Linked DNA regions of Homo sapiens: region 2 is linked to region 1. The links are contacts of gene promoters, found by promoter capture Hi-C in blood cells and fetal thymus (Javierre and others, 2016). All regions are on one chromosome and are shown on one strand. Each heading gives the region's core, a stretch centred on a gene start or on the middle of the fragment in contact. The rest is flanking DNA. Distances are from core to core; before and after follow the strand shown. Region 1 holds the start of TMTC2 (transmembrane O-mannosyltransferase targeting cadherins 2). Region 2 has its middle 46 kb from the start of NTS.

Evidence for each region. The method cuts DNA at HindIII sites, captures the fragments that hold promoters and counts their contacts. A CHiCAGO score of 5 or more calls a contact.
Region 2: a contact is called between a fragment that was not itself captured here and the fragment with the promoter of TMTC2 in region 1, in 1 of 17 cell types (total CD8 T cells). The highest score is 8.2, in total CD8 T cells.

Annotation. Positions count from the first base shown.
Region 1 is chr12:82,683,032-82,690,334 of GRCh38, reverse strand. It overlaps TMTC2 (transmembrane O-mannosyltransferase targeting cadherins 2), which reads right to left and starts at 3,429. Exons shown (of 12, transcript NM_152588.3): 1 at 2,666-3,429. The coding sequence starts at 2,748. RefSeq lists silencers at 2,409-2,468, 2,829-2,878, 3,449-3,548, 4,399-4,478 and enhancers at 3,589-3,798, 3,819-3,968. The HindIII fragment of the contact is 3,615 bases long and covers 2,606-6,220 here.
Region 2 is chr12:85,916,723-85,924,025 of GRCh38, reverse strand. No RefSeq gene overlaps it. Among named protein-coding and RNA genes, the nearest start is that of NTS, 46 kb to the right of the region's middle. The HindIII fragment of the contact is 598 bases long and covers 3,458-4,055 here.

The DNA.
Region 1 (7,303 bases), core at 2,180-4,679:
ACAGAACTGGATTTCACAAAAGTTCCTGGAGGGCAGCAGAATCCACAGGTCTAGTTTAAGCAATGTTTTAAACATGAATCTTTGCATCTGAAATGTAGTAGCGGAAATAAACAAATTATCATCATCCTACAGTTTACACTTGGCTCCCCAGCTTTCCTCCCCCTTCACACACCAGTGAGTTACAGTAGTTAGATAGAAAATATATCAGAAAAGCCACAATTTATAGTGTAACTTCACAATGAATCACTTGAACAGGCTGTGCATACAACAAATAAGTTCAGTGCTCCTATTTATGTGTCTCATAATTTCTAGGATACATAAAAACAAAGTTTGCTGCTCTTAAGATTTCACATTCTAAGAATATGTGATGGCATATGTAGTTCTGCTAAGAAATCAGTGTAAAATACACTTTTCAAATTGTAGCAAAGTATAATTCACAGTTACAGGCCCTCAATATTTTATCAATATATACTATCTAGACATCATATTGAGCATGCTATCAATAAAATCATATGGGCAAATAATCATACTATATTCACCTATGTAGCTACAAGATAGAAGTCACGAATTTTAACACTCCATTAGACTATTGCATCTGAAAAACTTACAACTGCCAACCATCAAAGCACAACTAATTTATCATCACACTCACACCATTCTTCCAAGTTACAAGGTCCAGTCCTAACACTTCTGATGACTCAAGAGCACAGAACAATTATACCTATAGAAAAATGCATATCCAAATTTAACCTTAATTTTTAAAGAATGGCTTCTTCTGATGTGTATTTTCTTAAGGATTAGACAGCAATGAACAAGGGCATACAATAGGAATACTTGATTCACCACCGTGTTCTATAACAAGTTGCATTATTATAATAAGTTTCTTTTTTTAAATAAACTCTATATTCTTGGTTTAAATGCTTACTATTCAAACTGCCCCCAAGAGCCAGTAACTGCCCACACTGACCCAAGGTGGTTTTAGTGAAAAGTCACCCATCAAGTTGCATTATTATAGTAAGTTTCTTTTTTTAAATAAACTCTATATTCTTGGTTTAAATGCTTACTATTCAAACCGCCCCCAACAGAGCCAGTAACTGCCCACACTGACCCAAGCTGGTTTTAGTGAAAAGTCACCCATCTTTGGAAACAAGGGCTTTTTCCACGAATATGCTAGAAATAGCAGGTGCACCATTACACAAAATTGGAGAGAACAGAAATTTACCTCACTCCTACAGACCATTTCTCAGAGCATGCTGTGTAGTTGCTAAAATCAGTATGCTGCGTAAAAGTTAAGAAAAAATGTATGTCTAACAGTGGTTCCCTATCAACTAGCCTCTGGTAGGCACTACATAAAATGCATTAAGACGGGTTTGCTGGATGTTCTGGCACCTATTATCAGGTGATTTTTTAACAGAGATGTGAAGATGCTTTTAGCAGGAGAATGGGCACACCAGAGAATACAGAATGTGGCTAATTACGACGAGAAGAAGATTCTGCCTTCACCTCCCCTCACTGTCAACCACTTTGCGTAAGTGCTCTCACTGCCTCGCCCTAACCCTGGGGATCCATTCACTTTTCATAGCTCAGAGAGGCTGCTGAAAAGCTGTCAAAGTAAATCTGTGCTCACTTTTTGGATGGTTTAATTTCAATGGAGCATGAAACACCCCAGGACGGTTAATAAGTTTAGCCAGGCGTGCTGTTATCCCTAATATATTTTAATTATGCATCTGTTTTAATTGTAATCAGATTAAGACACCGGAAGGACACAAATTGGAATTTTCCCTAATGGATATAGGGGCTTTTCATCACTTTCTGAACACTAATAACGTTTAAAAGATAGGAAGAGACACCAACACAACGGTGACATTTTCCAGAAATCGATGCAGTTTCTTTGACAACACAGTTCAGGTCTCATTAGCCACCCAAACTAACCTAAGTGCAGAAGACAACTTCAGTCTCTAGGGGCGTCTTCTTCTCCAATTAGTACAAAAGAACCACTAACATCTAATGTACAACTCCCAAACAGAAATGAGAAAGCCGAGGCTTTTATAAAGTGCTGCCCAATGGATTGGTGAAGGAGGCTAGGGCGGCGGGAGAGACCATCAGCAGCATTATTTTGGCTCAAAGTAAAAGTCTATACACGTTAAAAGGGAAAGTTAAAGCAGAGAACGATCTCCCTTTTCACAATTTTGGCAACTATCAAACGTGTGTTTTAACTTCGGGAAATAAAAGTGTCCCATCAATAAAAGGAAACGGGACAGGGAGGATCTATCAGGGATCGAGGAGAGGCTTCCTCCCAACCAGACGTAAAATCACTTAATGTGCTTTGTTGCATCAAGGAATACCTAAGACTTTAATTTAATACGTTCATTAAACAGTTTCCCAAATTGCCGGGATTTCCGCTAAGAAACTCAAGCGTCTGCCAACAGCCGAGAAGCAAGGGAGAGAACCTGCTGCAAACTAGGAGCGGAAACTCCCTCGGCCCGCCCAGCGCGCCTCACGTCCCCGGTGTTTGATTTAGGTGTTAATGTTTACGTGTCGCCTAAACCATCAGGTGCTGAACCAGTTCCTCCAAGACGCACTTTGAGCCTTAAAGAGGGAAGCTTCAGAGCCACTGCGGAGTGTGCCCCCTGCAGCCCGTCGCCCCCTCCTCTCGGCCCCTTACCTGTCATCATAGCAGAAATCCGCACTCAGGGTGTTGAGATACAAGGCGAGCCCCAGAGCGCTGCTCACCAACTCTGCAATCATCTCTCCACCGCCTTCCCTCCGGCTCGGCTCCCAGCGCGAGGGCAGCAGCGGCAACAAAAAACAGAAGCATCAATCTCCACCTTCCGCCGCCTTCTCCTCCCAGCTTCACTTTTCCCTCGCTTCCCCACCCTCCCTCCCTCGGGTCCTTCCAATCCACGACTCCTCTCCTCCTCCTCGCGCCCGTCTCCGCAGCTCCTGCGTCCTCCCCGGGTGCGGGCTCACACCACACTCCCCATGCCCGGCGCCCGCAAGCGGTGAGCGGCGTTTGGGCTCCGCGTCCCCCGGCGGAAGCGCAGGGCTGGTCTTTCGCGCGGGTCGCGATCCCCACCCTAACCCATGGCAGTTTGGGGCGTCCTAGGTGAGGAGTGGGACTCGGAGGAGGTGGAAGGGTGCGGGATGGGGGCAGAGGGACCGGACCAAGCCGGGCTCTGGGACCAGCTGGAGGAAGAGAGAGAAAGAGGCGCGGGTGGGAGGGACAAGGCGAACCGCCTCCCCTCGCCGCCTCCCGGGCGCACTGCTCCGGTGTCGCTCGGGCGGACTCCGGCCGCCAAGGCAGCTGCTGCACATTCAATGTTTATTAGCTCCCTCCCAGCCCCAGCCCCAGCCCCAGCCCCAGCTCCCTTCTCCAGTGAAGTGAGAAGCGGTGGCTGGAGACTCCAGAAGCTCCCGCGTGGGGTTCTCGACGCGGCCCCCCGCGCCTGCGTGACCAACCCTCCATCCCGGCTTGGCCCAGCCCCTTTCTCCACCCAGATCCTCCCGGAAGGCTCCTCCTACCCTGCCCCTCGGGCTGGAGGCTCCTCCCACCCTCCCCGGCCTGGAGGCTCCTCCTACCAGCCTCCCGTCCTCTTGTTTCTTTCACCTTCGATTTCACTCTGGAAAGCCCCCGGGACCCAAGGGCGACGGCTGGAAGACAGCCCAAAGGAGTAGATACAGTGCACCCTGGGAGGGGAAGCTGGGAGAAAGGAGGTCGAGGAGGAGGTGGTCGGTCGCCCCGCTGCTGCCTGGCAGCGCCTGGCACGGCTGAATCTCAGCCACAGCGCTGTGTGTGCCAAGAGCTGCCAGGCGTAAGTCCGGTCAGCTGGAGAGACTTCTGAGACCGGGAGAGGAAGAACAGGTTTGGCGACTGCTGCAGCTTCGGTTGTCACAAACTCACTGGCGATCTCTCACGCACACTGTGTGTGAGACTAAATGGGGGGGAGGAGGTAGTATTGGAGAGCTTGGAGGCAACTTAGGAAGGAGAGATTTCAGCTCTTAGCCTACGGTTGGCCACAATGTCAGTGGAAAGACGTGTAGGGAGAGAAACGTTTCCTCCTTCAGTAAGGTTAAAAAGAAAGGACCCCAAAAAGGGAAAGAAAGACACACACACACCCCGCAGCAACTGCCCGGGGACCCCTTCGTGGTTTCAGAGGGACTGTCGGGTTGACCCTGAGAACACAGGAGAGAAACCTCTAGTGCAAGCCGGTACAGCATTATACTTAAACCTAGTAAGGCAGTAAGCTAATGCCCTTTCCTTTCCGCTCGGAGGCAGGACTGGATGGAAAGCATCCAACATGGTGAAATATGGTGTAGAATGGTCTGTGTAGAACAAGCTCTGGGTACTAAAGTTGCAAGACCAAAGAGGACCCAGGGCTGCCTGACACGCCTCCTCCCGGCTTGTTGGCTTTCTGGCCAGGAGAGTAGCTCCGGTGCACCGCGATGTACACTACTGCAGCGCCCCCTGCTGCATAGTAACCACAAGGTGTGGAAGACAGGTCTGTTTTGCATGCGGGCCGACTGGTTCCAACCAAGAGCAGCACCTAACCAGCAAGCTCTCCGAAACTGTGGCAAGAAATTGAGCCCCCTGGGTGTCTAGCAGTGGCCTGGAAAGAAAATACCGTGGTCTGGGCTTCTGTAGAACAAAGCTACATATTTCCCTGATTTCACAAGGAAATCTGAGAAATCTGTATTGGATACACACAGATAAAATGATGAATATTTATTAATATTATACCTGTTATGCCATCCACAGTAGCACATTTTTTGTGCCCTGGACAAATATATGTAAACAAAAATAAAAGGAATTATGTCTTTACAGGTAGGGACTGATCTTTTACCCTTTTCCTCCATAACCTTTGCTCACTTGAAAATTTTGAAAATCATATCAGTTAGTCCATCCTGATGCTCTGTGTCTCTCCAATGCACTTACATGCTGAGATATATATAGTATATATAAAATATGTATATGGTGTCCTAGAACACTGAAGGAAGAACACATACTGTGGGATCAGATGTTTAAGTTTGAGTGCATACTCTGCTATTACTATTTGGGCGATCTTTGGCCAGTCGTTCAACCTCTTTGTGACTCTGTTTTCTAATCTATGAAACAGTGATAATAATAGTACTTATCTTATGAGTACTGTTATTATGAGTATTAAAGTAGTTAACCTATGTAAAATATCTAAAAGGGACCAGGAAAGTGCTACAGAAGTATTAGCTAGTATATCATTATTACTATGCTTTCTAGCTTCCTCGTTTCATTTTACTTGTTAACAAAAACCTGGACAGTTACCTCCAAAACACATCCTATCACATCTTTACTACTTGAGTCCACAGCCCAGCTGCCCTCATCTCCTGCATAGACAAATGCAGTAGCCCTCTAAGTGGTCCCCGTACTTCTACCCCTGCAATGCCTCCCTTCCCCAATTTTAACTTTAGGCAGAAGTTTCCTTTGAAAACCTATACATTCCCAATTTTTAAATGTTCCACAACTTCCTGTTGTATTTTTAAATGTCCAACAACTTCCTGTTTTACAGCTAATAAAACTAATTCTTACCATGGCCAGCCAAGCCTTCATTTAGCCCAGACTACCCCTCCCGCTTCATGTTGTGTTCATATGTGTACAACACAGACATCCTTCTCAGGAACTAACCACTTTCTCTTCCTCCTGCATGAGGTTCTTCTCCTCAAACCTTCTCTAGCTCCTTCTCACCATTCAGGTCTTAGCTCAAATGGCATAACCTCAGAAATAAAGTAGGCTCTCCCCCATCAATCTCTATCCAACCACCATGTATTAGTTTCTTCATAGTATGTATTAGTATCTGGAAGCACCACTGAGTGGAAGCTCCATGAGGTCAGGGATCCTGTCAGTCTTCTTTTCCACATAAAACCCAGAGCCTATAACATCTGGACACGGAGAAGAAACTTTAAAAAGATTGTTAATAAATGAACAAAATAAATGTGCTTAGGAGAAACTACGTAACAGCTGGAAAATCCAAAAATTTTCATCGCTGATTTATTGTTTGTCGTTAGTGTTAAAGATCGTGAAGTATTAACCAAGGAGAGAGGAAGGGAGCAGGTTCACAGTTTTTCAGAATACATCAAGTCTGCAGGAATACCCGTGAAGGGGAGTCACATGGACAGGTCTCTTCAGTTATTAAGAGGACTCAGATATGTAAAAATATTAGAGAGCTTTGGGTTCCACATGCTAAAAGCTTGTAAGCCTTTTCCACAGCTGTGTTCATTTTTAAGGCTCCAATAGTTTAATTTAATTTTTAATTTTTTTTTTTTTTTGAAACAGAATCTCACTCTGTCGCCCAAGCTGGAGTGCAGTGGCCCGATCTTGGCTCACTACAACCTCTGCCTCCCGGGCTCAAGCGATTCTCCTGCCTCAGCATCCCCAGTAGCTGGGATTGTAGGTGTGTGCCATCAAGCCCGACTAATTTTTGTATTTTTAATAGAGACGGGGGTTTTACCATGTTGCCCACGCTGGTCTTGAACTCCTGACCTCAAGTTATCCACTTGCCTTGGCCTCCCAAAGTGCTGGGATTATAGGCATGAGCCACTGCGCCCAGCCATGGCTCCAATAGTTTTAAATAAATTTTATACACTCCTCCATCTCCTCGTTTTCTCCTTTCCCCACCTCCCAATACCTCTGAATTGGAAGCCTAGGTGACTGGGAGATGGGCTGTAAAATGGCACATCTTGCCTTCCCTGATAAACAGAAGGCTGAAAACCTAGCTGTGTTTGAGAAATCCAGTTGCTTTTAACAAATTTTTCTATTATAATTTAATGTAGGTTTCAATATCCTTCCAGAGCATTAAGCCATGGTCTCTTTTAGATTGCTCTCCAAGGGCTGAGAAGCAGCCAATTCCTGAATTTTCTACCTTCCTGGAACAACTTTAGGAGGAAAATCAGATTAAAGATGTCATCATTATTGTTGGAGATCATTTAAAATCTGAGGACATAGGTTTTTAGTTTATCAAGGTGTACTTATTTGATGTAAGGTTGCAGCATCAGTTCTGAATATGTGTATGTTCTATTTAAAGCGACAGTTGCTCTCCACAGGTGAAGGAAATTAGGATGGCTGGCTTGAATTTTCTACCTTAGACACAATACTGGCCAAAAAAGCGCTAAGCCCTTATTTTCCTGAAGTAGGCTCCACACATCTGCTACCTCACCACTTCCTCAATGAATTCCTTTTTATAGTAGCCCCGACCTACCCTGCATTTGTTCTGCATTCTCAGTCCTTTGTTGTATAATTCATACCTTTGCAGTGCCAGTTCCTCAGGGTAAAGAT
Region 2 (7,303 bases), core at 2,507-5,006, 3.2 Mb before region 1:
AATCAGTCCAAAAATAATAAAATGACTAAACTTCCAAAAGAAATTAAATCTTAAAGAACATGTTTTATCACAGTTTTATGGATTAGGAATACCACCTAGTGGTCAAAAATAGTTATGCTGCCCTGATACTTCTTTAATGTAGATGCCTCATATCTGCTTGTTCCTCATTAATTTTATTCCTCTTGAGTATATTTTTAATTTTTTTGTAATTTTAGAGTTTTGACTTTCAAAGGAAACCCATGGTAACATATTTACCTAAAAGGAAAATGGCAAAACTATATCAGAATATATGAAAAAATGTACAGCTTTAGGTACTTCTGGTTTACATAAAGAAATTTTGATAAAATAAAAATGAAATGTTCAAGAGAGTAACAACCTGACAAAAATATACTAAAATGTAAGTGCAATCTATTGTTCAATATTTTGAAAAGTGGAATGAATAGGAGCTTAATAGGAGCTTAATTATTATCAAGGTTCATAAATATCTCTATGATAATTTAAATTACTAACTGACCCTAAATTTATTGCCCTCTATATAAATATGTATAGCTATCTACTTCAGATACATAGAGACCATTGTAGGCTGAATAATAGCTCTCAAATATATTCACATCCTATTCCTAGGAACCTGTGAATGTTACTTTATATTGGCAAAAGAAACTTTGCAGATGTGAATAAATTAAGGATTATGAAATAGGGAGATTATCCTGGATTATTTAGTGGACCTGGATTATTCTGGAAGGGAAACAGGAGGAGTAAAGTCAGAAGAGATGGCTACCTAATGAAGTAAGGAGAAATTGGAGTAATGGGCTTTGAAGATGGAGGAAAGGCTACAAGATGACAAACCATGGAATACATGTGGCTGCTTGAAGCTGAAAAAGACCGGGAAGCAGACTCCTTGGTCCGAGACTCCTGAAGGAGCTAGCCCTGCAGATACCTTGACTTACCTGATATGGTTTGGCTGTGTCCCCACCCAAATCTCATCTTGAATTATAATCTGGGTTGCAAGCCCCAGGTGTTGAGGGAGGTACCTGGTGGGAAGCGATTGGATCCATGGGGGCAGATTCACCCATGCTGTTCTCTTGATAGTGAGGGAGTTCTCATGAGATCTAATGGTTTTATAAGGGGCTCTTCCCCCTTCACTCTCTCTTGCCTGCCACCATGTAAGACATGCCTGCTTCCTCTTCTGCCATGATTATAAGTTTCCTGAGGCCTGCCGAGCCATGCGGAACTGTGAGTCAATTAAATCTCCTTTGTTTATAAATTACCCTGTCTCGGGTGGTATCTTTATAGCAGTGCAGAAACAGACTAATACACCTTTTTAGACTGATTTCAAACTTCCGGCCTTCAGAACAGTAAGACAATAAATTTGTGTGGTTTAGGCTAGTGAATTTGTGGTAATTTGCTACAACAGCAATAGAAAACAGACAGATACTTTGCTGCAAATCATGAGGTCTCTCTTTGTAGAGTGGTGACGGTTTTCATTATAGTTGAAATAGCCCTGTGATTTCACCAAGGATTTTGATGCTGTACATATTTACTGTTTAGTCATTAGCATTTCATAAGAAAAAAAAAGTTTATCAAGGAATTTTACTGAAAAGTTACTCATTTTGAAATCCTAGTTCTCTATTAGTGTGGCTTATTAGAAAAGTTGTTGACAGAATTTTTCACTGAATTCTTTCTTAGTATTGGTTAGTTCATTAAAGGTCTTCATTAATTGTACTGCCAAATATTTTGCCAGCATGTTTTCACCAGAAAAAAACTCACTGGCCCTGGTCCCACTGTGCATGTCAGGAATATAAATTTTTATCCTTCCCTTATTGTATTCTGGACTCTCTCTTGTTAAAAAGTGCCCACATTAAACAGTTAATCAGTAGAGGTTTTAGGAAACCCTACACGGCAAAGAGCACCAGGGCACTGCAAATGCTTACAAGAATTCCTACGCAGGGTAAATTAGGAGGTCCTATGACATGGTTTTTCCAAAGACACAAGAAGCCTATAAATACACACACACACACACACACACACCACCACCACCACCGCCACCGCCACCGCCACCGCCACCGCCACCACCACCACCACCACCACCACCACCACTTTTGGAACCTAAATCCCTTGAAACAATTTTCTATTTGTATATCTCTTACCAGACTGCTTGATATCCTGTTTGGGGGGCATGGGGGAGGCTAATTTTGGTAACATGTTATTATTTGCAGTGATTTGTCAGATTGAGCAACTGGGGATTGCTTACTTTAAGTGGCACCTCTCTCTCAAAGAATTTCTAAAATGGCACTGTTGGGCCTTCCTAGAAGGAGCAAGGATATAAAGACATCTGTTTCATTCATGGGAAAATTGAGAACTTTTTTTTTTAATGTCTAATGTTTGAACTCATGGAAGGAGAAATCCTCTTTCTATAAGTTTGCCAGCCCACCTATCCATCTATCCATCCATCCATCCATCCCTCCTTCCCTCCGTCCATCCATACATCCATCCATTCATTTAGTCATTCCTTCACTTATTTAATAAATGTTTATTATGTTTTAACAAATTTGACTTCCCTGGACATATACCAGGTTTTCTAAGTATATTATAATTTCCAGGGTTTCCTTCTCTACTAAGCCTCAGAAAATCATATATAAAATATATGACCTTATATACTAGTTGGTAAGGAGATGAACAACTTAAAGGTGGTAGCTTTATAGCTTATTTTGTACTGTTAAACTTCATTAAATGAAAATTATTTTTATAAATAAAATTATTTTTATTCCAATTTGGACACAAATAAATATATAAATATAATTTTTTAATTTTAAAATTCAAAATATATAATGTGATATATGGTCATTATTCATTGAGCTCAAATTTTATTGGTTATAATATTATGCAAGAAATGCTGGCCTACAATGTTAAAGAACGAATTGGCATTTCTCTTTTCATATGAGTTGAAAAATTTGAATAGGGGAGACTATTCAAAGCTTGGCCAGATACAGCAAAAAGATAGAGAAATAGGGGATGGGGAGACTATTTTGTATTTGTATTTTGTATTAGCACCATTTTCTTATGGTGGCTCAGCAAGGGAATTCTGAGCTAAACTGAGGGCTCCTTGCAATTAAAAAGAAAAATATTTATTTAGAATAAAAGCCAGAGTTATTTAGTAGGGCACATATTCTTATTAAATACTGTCTAGACTGTATAGTCTTTATAAAGAAATTAATATCCTGTTGATGCTGTATGTTTGTCTTCAAGTATGTAAGCAGAAATTTAGCCATAGTCACTGCTAGTGGGAAGGGTCTGAATTATTTCCCCTCCTGCCTTCCACAGAACTAGTGATTATCTCTCTAAGCAGATGAGCAGAGAAAATGAAAAAAGAAAGTAACATTAAAATGTATTCATCTCTTCTCTCTTTTCAGTATTTGTTGACTGTTAAGGCTTTCTGACATCAAAGGTTATAAAAGCTTTGCTTTTCATATCTGTTGTAACCACTAGGTGGCAATATAATGCAAAAAATAAAAATATATTTTAAACGCCCTCTTTAGATTTGCTTATCGTCACAGGTAGTCTTTTCCGTGCATCTCTGAAATTTGTCTATAATTCCAAAATTAGATCCTATAATCTATGCACCTATCTTTGTATCATTTTTATTTCTCTGTTCACATCCTTGAAATTATGAATTGTGCAAGAAAACCCATCTGCCTTATACTCCTAAATATAAGATTATTTATAGATATACAATCACAACAATAAGTTATGCTAATGGCAACTTTAAAATGCCATATAAGGTGATGTAATAAAGATTATTGGAATGTGTAAAGATAACTTATAGGTTCTCTTTTTCCGGTACGATCAGGAAATGAAGTTGTGTTTTTTAGTTTTTAAAGAGAGTAATTAACTTGACTATTTTCCAAGATAATTAAAATGCTATAAAAATATTCTGTATTTTTATCTCATCTTTGATTATTCTAAAGGAGGTCCATGTGAATTAGGCCCCAGGATTTACAATGCCTCAAAGTAACTGAGGAGCAAAGGTTAACTCCACAGTCAGAGAACTCGAAGCTTTTGAATATACTGACATCAGGCCTGGCGCGGTGGCTCACTCCTGTAGTCCCTGCACTTTGGGAGGCTGAGGCGGGTGGATCACGAGGTCAGGAGTTTGAGACCAGACTGGCCAATATGGTGAAACCCCGTCTCTACTAAAAAAATACAAAAATTAGCTGGCGTGGTAGCACCTGCCTGCAGTCCCAGCTGCTCGGGAGGCTGACGCAGGAGAATCGCTTGAACCCGGTAGGCGGAGGTTGCAGTGAGCCGAGATCGCGCCACTGCCCTCCAGCCTGTGTGACAGAGTGAGACTCCATCATCTCAAAAGTAAATAAATAAATAAACTGACATTAAGTTTCTTTATCTATAGCACAAATGTGTTTAAATAACCTGCCACTCATCAAAATATCTTTAATTATCTATTATTCTTTTAAATTTATATACCAATAGTCATTCTAACCTATTTTCACCACCATAAAAGTATTGAAGTAAATGGAGACAAATTCTTGATAAATTATTGTGACGCTCCTTTCTAAGGCAGATGATATAATCTTGCATACAGAAAGCCCTAAAGATTCTACTTAAAACATCACTTAAAATGAATAAACAAATTTAGTAAAGTAGCAGGATACAAAATCAACACAAATTATTTGTGACCCTATACTTTAACAATGAACAATCCAAAAAGAAAATTAAGAAAACAAATCTGTTTACAATAGTACCAAAAAGAAGAAAATACTTAGGAATTAACCAAGGGAGTGAGAGACTTGTACAATGAAAACTACAGAACACTTATGAGAGAAATTAAAGAAGACATCAATAAATGGAAAGATATCCTATATTCTTTAATTGGAAGACTTCAAATTGTTAAGATGTCAATACTTCCCCAAACAATTTAAAGATTCATTGCAATCCCTATCAAAATCTCGACATTGTTTTCTAAAGAAATAGAAAAATAAATCCTAAAATTAATATGTAACCTAAGGGGCCTCAAATCACCAAAATAATCTTGACAAAAAAGAACAAAATTGGATTACTCATACTTTCTTATTTCAAAACTTACTACAAAGCTACAGTAATCAAAACATTGTGGTACTGGAATAAAGACAGACTTACAGTCCATTGTAACAGATTAAAGATCCCAGAAATTAATTTTGGCATATATGGTCAAATGACTTCCTTAGTGGTGCCAAGACCATTCAATAGTAAAAGAACAGTAAAAGTGGTGCTGGTAAAAAGATAACTTACAGAAGGAAAAAAAAAAAACAAAAAACAGCTTTACAAATCACATGTCTCGTAAGGGACTAACACCTATAATCTGTAGAAGACTCTTAAAACAGCAACAAAAACCCCAATTCAAAAATGGACAAAGGACTTAAATAGGTAAATATATTTTTAAAAATCAAGTATATTTTTATGAAGTGATAACAAATTAAGTTATTGTTTATAAGAACAATAACAATATTATGTAGAAATAAATTTAACAAAACATTGCAAGAGCTCTATGCAAAATTATCTTTTTTTACTTTTGAGGGAGATTAAAGGAGTGTTAGAAAAAAGATATGCCAGGTATGTGGATTATAAAATTCAATATTTTGAAGTTGTTCATTTTTCTAAAATTGATCTACAGATTTAATGCAATACTTATAAAAATCCTTACAGGTTTTGTTTGTATGTGTGGTACTTGACAAGCTAATTCCAAATTTTTAATGGAATACAAGGGTAACAAAAATAACTAACATTCTTGAAGAAGAAAAAAAGGTAGGAGGGTTTGTTTAATGAACAATCAAGATTACTACTAAGTTGAAGTGATTATGAGTGTGATATTACTTCAAGGATAGAAAATTGCTAAATGCAACTGAGTAGAGTATTACACACTATAAACTAAGTAAGTGAACACTTAATTCATGATAAATTCGGCACTGTAGAATAGTGGGGAAGTAAAAGCCTTTCAATAAATAATTCTGGGAAAAATGAATACTCATCTGGAAAAAAAAGAAAATTCATCCTTTCTCTACATTGATACACAAGTAATTTCAAGGTCAATTTGGGATATAAATAGGAAAGGCAAAACACTAAAGCTCTTAGGAGATAACAAAATAAAAATTCACAAGATGATGGATGTTGTCTTAAAAACAAGGATTGGCTGCGTGCGGTGGCTCACGCCTATAATCCCAGCACTTTGTGAGGCTGAGGTGGGTGGATGATTTGAAGTCAGGAGTTCAAGACCAGCTTGGCCAACGTGGTGAAACCTCATCTCTACTACGAATACAAAAAGTAGCCAGGCATGGTGACACATGCCCGTAATCCCAACTACTCGGGAGGCTGAGGCAAGAGAAGCACTTGAACCTGGGAAGTAGAGGTTGCAGTGAGCCAAGATCACGACACTGTACTCCAGCCTGGGCAACAGAGCAATACTCCATGAAAAAAAAAGAAGAAGAAGAAGTATAGAAGTATTAAGCATTAAAAATATTTACAAATATTTTACAAATACATGACTACATTAAAATTAAAATAATTATTTCTTTTGAGCCACCATTTTAAGAATGAAAGATGCCACAAATTAGATTAAGAATATGTTTATAGTGCATATCATCAATAGAGCATGTATAGTTTTTTCTTATTGATTTCTAGGTAATTTTGTCACCTAGGAATCAAATAGATAAAAAAGATTTCACTACAGAACAACAGGCAAGAGACTTGAACAGGCACTTCAAAATAAGGATATTAAATGGACAGTAAAGATATGAAAAGGTGTTCAACCTTATTAGTTATCAAGGAAATGCAAATTAAAACCAATATTCAATACCATTGTGTACACCTGAGAATGGCAAAAATTAAAAAGACTGACAGGTCTTTAATAAGACCATAGGTGAAGATACAAAAGAATTCTTATACACAGCCAGTGAAATTATAAATTGTCATAACATCTTTACAAAGTAGTTCAGCTTTCTAGTAAAAAAAATAAAAATGAAAATAATTAGTAACAACAACAACAACAAAACCCTAACGTCCATCAAGGGAAGAATGAATAACATATATTATGAATTTCATTTAGAGATAAAAATAAATGAATTACAGTTACATATAAAAATATGGATGGGCTGGGTGTGCTGGCTCAGGCCTGTATTCCTTTTAAACTTTGCTTATCAGATAATTTTCCAAACTTTGTGTGAAATATTTCCTCAGAGCAGTGGGCCCAGAGGCTTGCCAAAAATAAGCAGTCTGACAAATAAATCCTAGAGAAGTTAGGGCAGACTCAGCAAAG